5 separate regions of the Homo sapiens genome follow, and regions 2, 3, 4 and 5 are each linked to region 1. Evidence: promoter capture Hi-C in 16 types of primary human blood cells and fetal thymus (Javierre and others, 2016). All regions are on one chromosome and are shown on one strand. Each heading gives the region's core, a stretch centred on a gene start or on the middle of the fragment in contact. The rest is flanking DNA. Distances are from core to core; before and after follow the strand shown.

What was found. The method cuts DNA at HindIII sites, captures the fragments that hold promoters and counts their contacts. A CHiCAGO score of 5 or more calls a contact.
Region 2: a fragment that was not itself captured here is called in contact with the fragment with the promoter of ARPC2 in region 1 in 3 of 17 cell types (monocytes, neutrophils and megakaryocytes); the score reaches 7.8 in monocytes.
Region 3: a contact is called between a fragment that was not itself captured here and the fragment with the promoter of ARPC2 in region 1, in 1 of 17 cell types (neutrophils). The highest score is 5.0, in neutrophils.
Region 4: a fragment that was not itself captured here is called in contact with the fragment with the promoter of ARPC2 in region 1 in 1 of 17 cell types (neutrophils); the score reaches 6.9 in neutrophils.
Region 5: the fragment with the promoter of CATIP here is called in contact with the fragment with the promoter of ARPC2 in region 1 in 14 of 17 cell types (total B cells, monocytes, total CD8 T cells and 11 more); the score reaches 9.3 in total B cells.

What each region holds. Positions count from the first base shown.
Region 1 is chr2:218,215,888-218,218,505 of GRCh38, forward strand. It overlaps ARPC2 (actin related protein 2/3 complex subunit 2), which reads left to right and starts at 1,302. Exons shown (of 11, transcript NM_152862.3): 1 at 1,302-1,367; 2 at 1,576-1,657. The coding sequence starts at 1,584. It overlaps LOC101928487 (a long non-coding RNA gene), which reads right to left and starts at 1,299. Exons shown (of 2, transcript XR_923908.2): 1 at 1,141-1,299; 2 at 214-964. RefSeq lists an enhancer at 1,311-1,914 and a silencer at 1,436-1,485. The HindIII fragment of the contact is 6,430 bases long and covers 87-2,618 here.
Region 2 is chr2:218,456,708-218,459,325 of GRCh38, forward strand. USP37 (ubiquitin specific peptidase 37) reads right to left here. Exons shown (of 26, transcript NM_020935.3): 24 at 385-454. Among named protein-coding and RNA genes, the nearest start is that of VIL1, 39 kb to the left of the region's middle. The HindIII fragment of the contact is 1,496 bases long and covers 547-2,042 here.
Region 3 is chr2:218,048,209-218,050,826 of GRCh38, forward strand. It overlaps a transcript of RUFY4 not described here. Among named protein-coding and RNA genes, the nearest start is that of RUFY4, 20 kb to the right of the region's middle. The HindIII fragment of the contact is 3,427 bases long and covers 1-2,618 here.
Region 4 is chr2:218,073,282-218,075,899 of GRCh38, forward strand. It overlaps RUFY4 (RUN and FYVE domain containing 4), which reads left to right. Exons shown (of 13, transcript NM_198483.4): 7 at 1-105; 8 at 535-604; 9 at 1,812-2,459. Among named protein-coding and RNA genes, the nearest start is that of RUFY4, 5.3 kb to the left of the region's middle. RefSeq lists an enhancer at 725-1,019. The HindIII fragment of the contact is 783 bases long and covers 897-1,679 here.
Region 5 is chr2:218,355,572-218,358,189 of GRCh38, forward strand. CATIP (ciliogenesis associated TTC17 interacting protein) reads left to right here and starts at 1,286. Exons shown (of 10, transcript NM_198559.2): 1 at 1,286-1,338; 2 at 1,524-1,616; 3 at 1,963-2,163; 4 at 2,466-2,521. The coding sequence starts at 1,314. CATIP-AS2 (CATIP antisense RNA 2) reads right to left here and starts at 2,395. Exons shown (of 4, transcript NR_125777.1): 1 at 2,343-2,395. RefSeq lists an enhancer at 1,181-1,692. The HindIII fragment of the contact is 20,732 bases long and covers 1,165-2,618 here.

The sequences.
Region 1 (2,618 bases), core at 52-2,551:
CAGCCTGGGCAAGAGTGCAAGACTCTGTCTCAAAAAAAAAAAAATTTAAGTTAGCGTATAATTTTAGGGGATCAGCAATATCCTGAAGCTTATCCATAGCCCGTTAAGTAATGTTTCAAAGGGCTATCTGTGCCTTAATGATAGGAGCTAGTTTCTTGTTCATTTTTTTATCCCCATCCCCAAACACATAGCAGAAAATAAATTATTTCCTTGTATGTAGAACGGACTCAGCTAAGTTTATTATATTCTCCCCGGAGGAGGGAAAACACAAAACAAGGCACAAAGGCAGAAGGTGCAGATGTAGCACAACGATGAGTTAAGATTCCGCACGCAGGTAACAAGGAGGGTATGGTATATCTCTGCCAGAGGTACTGGAAGGTTTCAAAGGCAGAAAAAAATGTGTTCCGGACACCTGGACGCAGAATTGGAGGCATGACAGGAACACAGGGAGGCCCATCTAAGTTGCCTATTCACCCAGGTGACCTCTCTTTCATTTCTTTAATTGTCCTTTTAACAATATGGGGAATTTCACCCAAGGAAAGGGTCCTCTTCTCGCCCCAGCAGGCAAGGGGTGTTCCTCCAGCGCAAGTTCCGGCCCCAGCTGCCCCCACGTCCCACAGGTCTCCTGCCTTTTGGCACGCACACTCCTGACCACTCGCTGCTTCCGCATCCCTACTCTGATCCTCTCCCCATGCATCTCTGCCTCCTTAGACAACTGAGAATTTTATTGTCTGTTTCCTTTGCCAGACTGTAAGTTCCACGAGGGCAGGGCCTCGTCCATTTCATTTACCACTACATCCCCAGTATAGAGCAAGAGCCCATGAAAATGTTTGTTGGAGAAATGAATGCATGATGGTGTCGCTGGACAGCTATACCTGGAAAGAAAAAGAGGCACCCCCATCAAACAAGCTGGGAGCTAAGAAGCCCGCTGGGAGACGACAAGGGCGAGCTTCTTGCGAGGTTTCTGAAATGACAAGACCGGAAGAATGGAGTTGGATCTCTGGGACAAGCGGGAGAGAGAAGCTGAACAGTCAGGCAAGCCTCGGGGAATGACAGCTCCGCGGGGGACGCACTGGTAGGCGGTAGACGTAAGCGGGGTCGGTGGGAAAGTAGACGGTGGGGCGGCGGCATCACACATACGCAAGCGCAGCCTCCGTTTCCTCCGGCGCGCCTGCGCTCGCGTTCACGAGTGGTTGAAGCGGAAATGGCGCCGCGGGGCCGCGCGTCCAGGCGGCGAGCGGAAGTGGGTGTGAGAGCGGAAGTGGCCGGCTAGAGCCGGGGGCTGGGCGGGGACCGGGCTTGTCGGTGAAGCGGCAGTGGCGGCGGCGGCGGCGGCTCGGCAGGCGGGTTCAGGCTTCGGGGGCCAGGTCGGTTGGGTGGGTGGGTGTCTCCACAGTCTGCGTGCGTGGGCCAGCGCGTTCGTCTTACCCTTCCCTCCACCCCGGCCCCTCTCCCCTTCTCCCCTAACCTCCTACCCCACCCAGCCCCACTCAGGGGGCAGCAGGGCCGCTCCCTCCGTCCTTGCCTCCCTTACCCACCCTCACCGGCCCTTGTTTCTCCTTCCCCTGGGGGCAGCCGCCGCCATGATCCTGCTGGAGGTGAACAACCGCATCATCGAGGAGACGCTCGCGCTCAAGTTCGAGAACGCGGCCGCCGGGTGAGCGCGCGCCCGGGGCCGGGGGTGGCGGGGGAAGCAGAGTTGACCCCAGCTAATCCCCAATGTTGTCCAGTCCCCCAGACCTGGAGGAGAGAAATGGGGTGCCTGGCAGGGTGTAGGGGCTGCCCCAGCGGGGTAGACGTGGGAGGCGATTGGGCGCGGCCGGGCGAGGGGCAGAGATGCGTGGGGAGAGGCTCAGAGGAGGGATGCGGAAGCAGCGAGTGGTGAGGGCTGTGCGTGCCAAAGGGCAGGAGACCTGTGGGACGTGGGGGACCCTGGAGCCGGAACTCGCTCCGGAGTAGCCCCCTGCCCTCTGGGGCGAGAAGGGGACCCCTTCCCTGCGTGAAATTCCCCGGCATTGTTCTGAACCCAGAGAGAGCCTGTTTGGAATTGGGTTGGAAGGAGTTTTCAGGAATTCCCAGGACTGGAGGAGGGAAGGAGATGCAGGCCCACATCGCCACCAGCATTCTCGTTCCCCACCCCCATCTCCTTTAAAAGGAGCAGAAGAGAAGACTAAAAGCCGACCCAGTCTTAGAGCCGGAAAAACGCGATCTCTGGTTTCCCTTCCCCGAACCCTTCTGTGAGAGACACTGGGCCATTTTGTTACATATTTTTAAAGCAAAGCCAATTGTCCCTCGCTCCACACCCCTTCCTTATCTCTCCTTTGAGGTTCTAATGCTCTCTCCTCACCCACTAGCCTTTATCTGGTTATCTTGTAAATTCTTACATCAAGACCCTAGGTCTGTGATTTCTTCTGTGGTAGCCCTGGCCCAGTTACACACTTCAAAGACTCCAGAATCTATAAAGTTCTTAGATAACCTGTCTTTACGATTGGACTTTTTAAAAGATGGGCTTAGGGCATCTTTCCAAGGCAGCCTCTCTGCCAAACACAAGAATCAGTAGAAGACAATCTGCTCCTCCAAAGCTGCTTTGCTTTTCTAGTATAATATTTAAAACATGA
Region 2 (2,618 bases), core at 45-2,544, 240 kb after region 1:
GTCTGTAATCCCAGCACTTTGGGAGGCCAAGGTGGGTGGATCTCTTGATCCCAGGAGTTCAAGACCAGCCTGGCCAATATGGTGAAACCCCATCTCTACTAAAAATGCAAAAATTAGCTGGGCGTGGTGGTGCATGCCTGTAATCCCAGCTACTTGGGAGGCTGAGACAGCAGAATCACTTGGACCCAGGAGGTGGAGGCTGCAGTGAGCCGAGATTGTGCCACTACACTCCATCCTGGGCAACAGAGTGAGACTGGATCTCAAAAAAAAAAAGAAAAAGAAAAAGAAAAACACACTTCACAAAGCTAGGCAAAGAGCAATATAATAAAGAGCAAATGCTGACTAGTTCATTTATAAAATGCTGAAATCATGATGGCTATTCACCTGAAGAAGAAGTGCTACCAATGTGACTGACAACACTGATGAGCCGGTACGAATGAGGCAGATTTCCTGTCTGGAAAACAGAAGTGGGTATAACTTTTAAGTCTTCATTTGAATAAAAGCAAAACACTGAATATAAATTTATTATCAAAGCTGACATGGCTAAGCTTTGGTATGTGGCATAGTAAGAATCAATTAAAAAATCTGTTCATACCCTTTGACCCAAGAATTCCACCCTCAACTAAGAATTTATTCTAAGGAAATAAGTCAAAAGAAGAGTATATGTATCAAATTATTTACTGTGGCATTATCTGGTGAAAAGCTGGAACCAACAATATATCCAATAATAGCTAACTGGTTAGTATATCAATTCAATATAATAATGTTCAGTTATATAAAAAAACTACATGGATCAGGAACATGTTAACCTTTTTTCCAAACCCATATGAATGCACATAGTAACTATAACTCTATTAAAAAAATGTTACGTTAAGAGTTAGGCATTGGACAATAGAACAAAAATGTTAAAAAGAGTTGCTATGTTGCTGTAGGGATCAGAGTGAACTTTTATATTTTAAAAAATATGATTAAAATATTTTTGGTAAAATAAAGCAAAACTGAAAAAGTGATATTCATGCACTGCAGACAGCACTATAAGGTAAAATTTGGGGAAGGAAGGCCAGGCGTGGTGGCTCACGCCTGTAATCCCAGCACTTTGGGAGGCCAAGGTGGGCAGATCACGAGGTCAGGAGATTGAGACCATCCTGCCTAACACAGTGAAACCCTGTCTCTACTAAAAAAACACAAAAAATTAGCTGGCGGGCGCCTGTAGTCCCAGCTGCTCGGGAGGCTGAGGCAGGAGAATGGCATGAATCCAGGAGGTGGAGCTTGCAGTGAGCTGAGATCGGGCCACTGCACTCCAGCCTGGGCGACAGAGCAAGACTCTGTCTCAAAAAAAAAAAAAAAGAAAAGAAAAGAAAAGAAAAAAAAAATTGGGGGAAGGAATATGGCTATATGTAAACCAGAAACTTAAAATGTTCATAAACTTCGATTTAGTAATTTACTTCTGGAGAATATAAAAGGAGAAATTCTAAAATATAGAAAATGCATGAGCCAAGAGCACACGCCACTGCACTCCAGCCTGGGTGACAGACAGACCTTGCCTAAAAAAAAAAAAAAAAAAAAAAACAACTCTATGTTTGGCCAGGTGCAGTGGCTCAGGCCTGTAATCCCCATACTTTGGGAGGCAGAGATGGGTGGATCCCTCAAGGCCAAGAATTTGAGACTGGCCTAGCCAACATGGTGAAATTGCATCTCTACTAAAAATACAAAAATTAGCTGGGCATAGTGGCTCATGCCTGCAATCCCAGCTACTCAGGTGGCTGAGGCACAAGAATCGCTTGAGCCCAGGAAGTGGAGGAAGTTGCAGTGAGCTGAGATCGTGTCACTGCACTCCAGCCTGGGTGACAGAGCGAGACTCTGTCTCAAAAAAATTAAAAAATAAAATAAAATAAAATAAGGAAAATGCTATAAGCATACAGTTTCCCAACTTATTATCATAGTGAAAAATTAAAAACAACTTAGACAAATACTCAATGTTAGCTAAAAGTTAAATAAGTAGGATATTTATTTGAGGCAATATAGTACAGCCATTAAACATAAGCTTATAAATAACTACTCTTTAAGAAACAGGATAACCTGGGTGTGGCAGTGTGTGCCTCTAGTTCCAGCCATTTGGAAGGCTGAGGCAGGAAAATCCCTTGAGCCCAGGAGTCTGAAGCCAGCCTGGGCAACACAGTGAGACTCTGTCTCTAGAACAAAAAAGCAAATGAAATAAAAACTATACTTACGACTTTTTAAAAAGTATACATGGAGGTGAGAATAACAAAGAAATATGTCAAAGTGCTGAGAGTAATTGTGTTAGGATGGTAGGATCCTGGATAATCAAAATTTGAGGAGAAAAAGCAATTATTTAAGGGGGGAAAAAGGGTTAAAAAAAAAAAAACAGTTCAATGTGCCCTAATTAACATCACCAATTCAATAGTTTTCAGTGAGGAACAACCGTTTTTGGTATTTAATTATAAAGATGATACAGTTATTCAGTGTAACTAAAGGTAATTTTTTCCCCCCGAGATGGAGTTTCGCTCTTGTTGCCCAGGCTGGAGTACAATGGCATAATCTTGGCTCACTGCAACCTCCTCCTCTTCCCAGGTTCAGGTGATTCTCCTGCCTCAGCC
Region 3 (2,618 bases), core at 40-2,539, 170 kb before region 1:
TTTTTACACGATTGCTGACCACATGTATGTCTCCTTTTGAAAAGTGTTCATGTCCTTTGCCCACTTTTTAGTGGGGTTGCTTTTTCTTGTAAATTTGTTTAAGTTTTTTATAGATGCTGGATATTAGACCTTCGTCAGATGCATAGTTTGCAAAAATCTTCTCCCATCCTGCAGGTTGTCTGTTCACCCTGTTGATAGTTTCATTTGCTGTGCAGAAACTCTTTAGTTTAATTAGATCCCATTTGTCAATTTTTGCTTTTGTTGCCGTTGCTTTTTGTGTTTTCATCATGAAATCTTTGCTCATTCCTATACCCAGAATGGTATTTCCTAGGTTGTTTTCCAGGGTTTTTATAGTGTTTCTTATGTTTCTGAAGATATTATGGTTTTTGTAAAGATTTATTTGATTCCCTTTATTGTCTCTCTTTATTTTTGGTCTAATAAACTCAGTTACCACTTATCCATCTACTTCTGATTTCTATTTTTTTAATCGGTTATCTTTTCTTCACTTTCTCTTAATCCTTGTACCTTGTAGGATTATGCCTTTTAAAAAAAATCCCTTTAGTGTCATTTTTAGTGGATTTTTGAGAGGAAACAGAGGTAAACATGTTCATTAAATTCTCCATTCTTAATATAAAACGCCTCTGGATTTTTAAAACATGCTTATTTTAAAAATCACATTCAGATTGCTCTGTTATCTCTAGTCCTCAGTTGTTAAATCTCCCATGGGTTAAGTTGGCTGATTGTTGATTCTGGTGGTTGTTAGTTCTTTGTAATATTTAATCATGAATTTATCTTTCGAAGAGCATATTTTCATGTAATCTTGCATTTGCCCTTGATTACAAAGAAATCTACATGGGGGAAGTTTCATGGCTGTACTGGCTGGGGCACTACTGGGTCATATGGTTCACAGCATTTTTTGTTGTTGCTAAATTTCTTGGCCCTGAGTTTCCACACCATTCCAAATGGCAGGTTTGGGACCTCATCATCTGATACTCAGGCTTGGGATTCTAGAATGTTCCTCAAATGACCTTCTTTTTCCCATGGCCTGGGGCAGGCAGCTCACTTGTGGATCATGTCCAGAGTTGGCAGGTGTTTTTGCCTGGGAAAGTCTCTATGTCTCCTTCATCTTTGAAGGATAATTTTGCTGAATATGATATTTGAGGTTGAAAGTTTTTCCTTCAGCACTTTGAATATATCATCTCACTCTCCTGGCCAGTAGAGTTTCCACTAAGAAGTCTGCTGCCAGATGTATTGGAGCCCCTTCATATTTAATTGACTTCTTTTTTTCTTGCTGTTTTAGGTCTTTTTTTTTTTTTAGATGGAGTTTCACTCTTGTTGCCCAGGCTGGAGTGCAATGGCATGAACTCAGCTCACCGCAGCCTCTGCCTCCCAGGTTCAGGCAATTCTCCTGCCTCAGCCTCCCAAGTAGCTGGGATTACAGGCATGCGCCACCACAGCTGGCTAATTTTTTGTATTTTTAGTAGTGACGGGGTTTCTCCCTGTTGGTCAGGCTGGTCTTGAACTCCTGACCTCAGGTGATCCACCCGCCTCAGCCTCCCAAAGTGCTGAGATTACAGGCGTGAGCCACCGTGCCCAGCTAGGTCCTTTCTTTATCTTTGACCTTCTTTATCTTTGAGTTTGATGAATAGATGCCTTGAGATAATCTTATTTGAATTGAATCTGCTTGTGATAGTGACAGGAGACAGACAAATTCCTAGTCAGACAGGGATGGGTCCCTGGTGAAACCTGACCTTCAAATCAAGGACAGTTTAAAGCCTGAAAACCCAGCTGCTAGTTCTAGATAGAGTCCATGACTGGAGTGAGAACTTCTATCCTCATCTCACCCACTCTCTCTTGATTGGCTACTTCTGGATGATGTCTTTTAACCAATCAAAGGTGTTTTTTCCAAAGCCACCCATGGACCAGTCAGCAAGTATTCCTCCATTTTTAGCCCATAAAAATCCCAGACTCAGCCTCACAGATGGCTACCCCACTTTCAGTGTCCGCTCCTGCAGCTGAGAGCTTTTCTTCTGTCACTCAATAAAATTCTTCTCCGCCTTACTCACTCTCCAGTGTCCACATATCTTATTCCTCTTGATCACAGGACAAGAACCCGGAACTCACCAAGCTACAGTAGGCAGGAGTGAAGGAGCTGTGATGCTCCTGGCTGGCTTGATGAGCTACAGATTACAGGGGTGAAAGAGCTGTAACCCTCCCTTCCACTTGCCGAACTGCAGGAGCAAAAGAGCTGTGACACTCCTGGCTAGCTCACCAAACTGTGGGAGGTGGGAATAAGAGCTATAACCCTCCCTCCAGCTCACAGAACTGCAAGAGTGAAAGAAGCCACTGAGTGCCACTCCCTCCTACTCGCCAAACTACAAAATCCACAGCATTTCATGTTCTATGACCTTCTTATAGCTGGATATTCACATCTTTCTCTGTATTACCACACATTTTTTTTGGCCTGGGTTTGGTAGCCAGACAGTGTTATATTTGTCTCTGCTAGATGTTTTAAGATCATAAAAGTATGAGTTTGACCTAAGAACAAATGTACAGATGAGAGTACATGCAATGACCATTGTTTTCTGTATATCAAACACAATTTAACCTTTAGTGAT
Region 4 (2,618 bases), core at 38-2,537, 140 kb before region 1:
ACGCCAAGAAGACATCCTGGACTCTCTCTATGCTCTCAATGGGGTGGCCTTCGAGTTGGACCTCCAGCAGCCAGACCTGGATGGAGCCTGGCCCATGTTCTCAGAGTGAGTGGGTGCAGCCAGGAGAGAAGTCTCTTTTGACACCTGGTCCCATGGCCACCAAGGGTCCCAGGCAAGCCCCAAGCCCTCAGCCTCCAGCCCCATCTGTCTCTGCCTCCTTTTGCTCCATGCCTTTGGATTCTTCTAGCCCTCGATGCTCCCAGTGCAAATTCATGGCATAATGCTGCCTAGAATATGCACTCACTAACGACTTCCTGGGTGGTTGAGGTGGAGGGCTGGAGGATGAATGGATAGCTGGATGCTAGGAGGGAAAGTACGGATGAATGGAGGATGGGATGCATGAGGGTGGGTGGGCAGGAAGGAGGAAGTGTCATGGGATGAATGCGCTAGTGGAAAGATGGGATACCCTCCATCTGAGGACCAAGCCCAACACTGAAGAGAGGCCCAGGGTCCCCCTGCCTCTTTCACTTTCAGGTCACGCTGCTCCAGTTCCACCCAAACCCAGGGAAGGAGACCCAGAAAAAACAAAGATGCCCCAAAGAAGGTGCCTCTGCCCTGCCTTCACTCTGAGTTGCCTCTTCCCCATCTCCTTGGCATCCTCAAGTTGAGTAGAAACTGAGCTTCCCCCTCCGAGTGTACAGAGAGCCCTGACCCTACAGGACAGACAGAGCAAGAGGCCAGTGTGTGGAGCAGGGGACTGGGGAGCTGCAGAGGAGGAGAGGGCTCCTATTCCTGGGGTGGCGGGGACACTGGGAGAGAAAGGGAACTCTAGCACCCTCTGCCGGAGCCACTGGGCCCAGACAAGGAGAAAGTGCTATGAGGGGCGGGCCACTGAAAGCTTCAGGAAACAGATGAGAGGGACACCCTCTGCTGAGTCCCCTGCACTGGACAATTGACACATGACTCAGTTCAGTTCAAGAAGTGACTAAAGACCCAGGTTGCCCGGTTGAATTCCAGCCCCACCCCTTACAAACTGTGGTTCTTGAACAAGTTACTTGTCCTGCCCCATAGGGATATTGTGAGGATGAACGGACACAACTCACATCCAGCACTGCACAGGGCTCCTGGCTACACGCTCCCCGCATGACAGTGTGTGGTCACCGTCGTTGTTATCATCATCCCCCAAGCACATTTTGCACCCCCACCAGCTTCCAGGCACTGGGTACAGATACTATTAGTTCTCTGGTCCGAAAAGTTCAGGGTCTCTTCATGGAGATATACCATAAAAAAAAGCATTGCAATATACAATTTCAGTGTAAGTGACACAGAAATGAACAGAGGAACATGGGAGCACAGAGGCTTCTTGAGAGGTTGCTCTTAGCTGAGTGTCGGTCTAGTCGAGATTTCATCACAACCCTAAAACCGGGTATTATCATTCCCATTTTGCAGATGAAAAAACTGAAACATGACATGTAGTTCGGGAGGAAAAATTAAAGGAAAGGAGTGAGAGGAACTTAGGGGGAACCAGATCAATACCCAAGACCCAGGTGCAGGAGGGAGAAGGATGTGGGCTGCGGGAAGGGACAGAAGGACATCAGGATGTCCCTCACCAGACCAAAGCATGGCGCTCAGATCACCTGGGTGTTGCTAAAAGTCAGATTTGGGGTTTGATAAATCAAAGCTTCCAGTGAGAGGACCTGGTACCTATCTATTTAGCAAGCTGATTAGATTAGCACTGTGGCCTAATCTAATGGCACCAGGTCAGTGAATTGGTGCTGAGAGGGATGACTGGTTTTGGGTCCTCTCCACAGATCCCAGCCGCATATGGAGGGCCTGAAAATGTCCAGATTGAGGACTCACACACCAGTCAAGCCATCTGTCTGCAAGATGCACCCAGTGGACAGCAGCTGGCAGGGCTTCCCAGGTCCCAGCAACAAAGGCATCTTCCTTTCTTTTTGGAAAAGAAGGGGGAAAGTTCCAGGAAACATAGGTACCCCCAGAGCATGTGGGAGCCAGAAGGGAAGGAGCTTCAGCTAGACCAGGAGGAAAGAGCCCCATGGATTGAGATCTTCCTGGGGAACTCAACACCCAGCACCCAGGGACAGGGGAAGGGGGCTATGGGCACTCAGAAGGAGGTGATAGGGATGGAGGCTGAGGTCACAGGGGTTCTGCTGGTTGCAGAGGGTCAGAGAACAACAGAGGGGACTCACAAAAAGGAAGCAGAGTGGAGTCACGTCCAGAGGCTGCTGATGCCCAGCCCCAGAGGGGCTGTAGAGGGAGCAGTATCAGGGAGCAGGCAGGGGTCGGGGGGCTCTAGCATCCTGGGGGAGCCCTGGGTCCTTCAGGGACACGCAACAAAGGAAGACTCTACCGTGGAGAATCCACAAGTGCAAACAGAAGTGACCCTTGTGGCCAGAAGGGAGGAGCAAGCCGAGGTGTCCCTGCAGGACGAGATCAAGGTGAGAACAGTTGAGCTCCATACCTGGTTATTTGCCCCTGTCTGACCTGGCCCACAGATGAGGGTCTGCAATGGTAGCCTGGGACCATTCCCTCCCACGGGTCAATTTTTATTGGCCCACTCAGGATTATTATTTGGGGATGCCTTTGAAAGCCATACA
Region 5 (2,618 bases), core at 36-2,535, 140 kb after region 1:
CCAGCCTGGCCAACATGGTGAAACCCCATCTCTACTAAAAATACAAAAATTAGCCAGGTGTGGTGGCGGGTGCCTGTAGTCCCAGCTACTTGGGAGACTGAGGCAGGAGAATCACTTGAACCTGGCAGGAGGAGGTTGCAGCTGAGATCATGCCACTGCATTCTAGCCTGGGTGACAGAGTGAGACTCTTTCTCAAAAATAATTAAAACAAACAAATAAATAAATAAAAATAATAAAAATAAAAATACAAAAATTAGCTGGGCATGGTGGCACACTCCTGTAGTTCCAGCTACTCAGGAGGCTGAGGTAGGAGAATCACTTGAACCCAGGAGGCAGAGGTTGCAGTGAGCCAAGATGGCGCCACTGCACTCCAGACTGGCAACAGAGTGAGACTCTCTAAAAAAAAAAAAAAAAGCGCCTCACCAGGAATAAGTCCAGTCAAAGAGTTTGCTATGTTGTCATTGTTGTTATCATTATTGTTACATGTATTAGAACTGTAACTTGCAGAGATATTCATGTAGCAGCTAATTGGATAGTGTGCATTTGAGACTCTGTCTGACTTTCGTTCATATCTTCTAAGGTCATTTTTTTTTTTTTGAGACAGATTACAGGCATGTGCCACCACTCCCTGGTAATTTTTGTATTTTTAGTAGAGATGGGTTTCACCATGTTGGCCAGGCTGGATCTCAAACTCCTGGCCTCAAGTGATCCACCTGCCTGGGACTCCCAAAGTGCTGGGATTACAGGTGTGAGCCACCACACCTGGCCTCTTCTAAGGTCATTCTAATGACCCATTTCTTCACTCTGCCTCTTAAGAATATCAAATGTGGGCCAGGCGCGGTGGCTCACACCTGTAATCCCAGCACTCTGGGAGGCTGAGGCAGGAGGATCACGAGCTCAGGAATTCAAGACCAGCCTGGCCAATATGGTGAAACCCCATCTCTACTAAAAATACAAAAATTAGCTGGGCGCGGTGGTGTGCGCCTGTAGTCCCAGCTACTCGGGAGGCTGAGACCTCAAGAAGAATTGCTTGAACCCGGGAGGCAGAGGTTGCAGTGAGATGAGAATGCGCCACTGCACTCCAGCCTGGGTGACAGAGCGAGATTGCGTCTCAAAAAAGAAAAAAATATATATCAAATGCTCCCTCTGCTGGACAACACCTCAAGCTTGTGCTGAGCCCCAAACCTGCAGTGTCAGTTCCCTCCAAGGTCTGGGTGTAGTAAAGTGGGTTGATGGCCCTTTAAGAGGCACTGTCCAGCTCTGGTTGCCATGGAGACAGCTGGACACAGACCGGGTAGAGGCAGGCCCACAGCATGTCCTCCAAGGTTTACTCCACAGGTGGGAAGAGGACTGCTGGGGCTGGAGGCGGGGATCCTCTTCTTTCTTCCCAATCCACCCTCGGGGTAGTCTTAGAGGATTCTGTTCTTGGGTGCTGGGGCCAGGACTGAGGTACCCTGCCTTGCCTCCCTGACCCCTGCCCTTCTCCCCAGGGTCTGCCATCTTAGCCTCTCATCCCTCTGTAGGCTCCAGAGCTAAGGACCACCAGCCCTCGGGTCCGGAGTGTCTGCCACTCCCAGAGGCCAATGCTGAAGCCATCGACTTCCTCAGCTCCCTCCGTGAGCTCAGACAGTGTCGGGGTTGGGGGTGCGGGAGGGGTGCAAGTCTGGAGAGGAGGGAAGAAAGTCCAGTCTCTCTCTCTCTCTCTCTCTCTCTCTCTCTTCCTTGATTCTCCTGGGACTCAGAAAAGGCCTGAGGCCTGTTTGTTGACATTCTTCAAGGGAAGGCCCCCCGGGGACATGGGGACATGGGGCAGGAGTCTTCACCTGTCCGTGCCAGTGAGGAAGGCTGTGGGATGAGGAGGCAGGTGGGGACTGTGGGGACACTGGTGGTCATGGGGTCAGAGGATTGGATTGGGGCCCAGGAGCAGGGGCTTTATCTGTTCCCACGGGCCCCTCACCCCAGACAAGGAGGAGCTACAGATGCTGTTCTTCTCTGAGACGCTGGCCATGGTCTCAGACACCGGGGAGCCTCAGGGAGAGCTGACCATTGAGGTGCAGAGAGGGAAATACCAGGAAAAACTCGGCATGCTGACATACTGCCTCTTCGTGCATGCCTCTAGCCGAGGCTTCTTGGACAAAATGCTCTGCGGAAATTCCCTCCTGGGTAGCGTTCCTACTGCCTGATGCCCGTCACTCTCCCCTTCCTCCAACCCTCCCCTCCACCAATTCCTAGAATCTTTTTTCAGGACCAAGCCCTTGGCTTTGCCTTGGACCAGGACAAGGCACGGGGTGGGAGAGGGATGAGCGAGTTCCTCATGGACTCGGGATGAGGGCACATCTTACCCATCCTGTAGTTTTTCTGGGACCGTATTACACCTAGTCCTCCAGCTGCGCCACCACCTTCCCTTCCTTCAGCCTCTGACCCACATCTCCTGTGACGTCAATGCCTGTGTCCCTGCACCCCAGGCTATCTCTCAGAGAAGCTGGAGCTCATGGAACAGCACAGCCAAGACTTCATCAAGGTACTTCCCAGGGCCCCAGCCTTGACCCAATCCAGGGGAGAGAAGACAGATTTTGACTTAAAAAACAGCAGCAACAACAAACCAAAAAACCTATTAC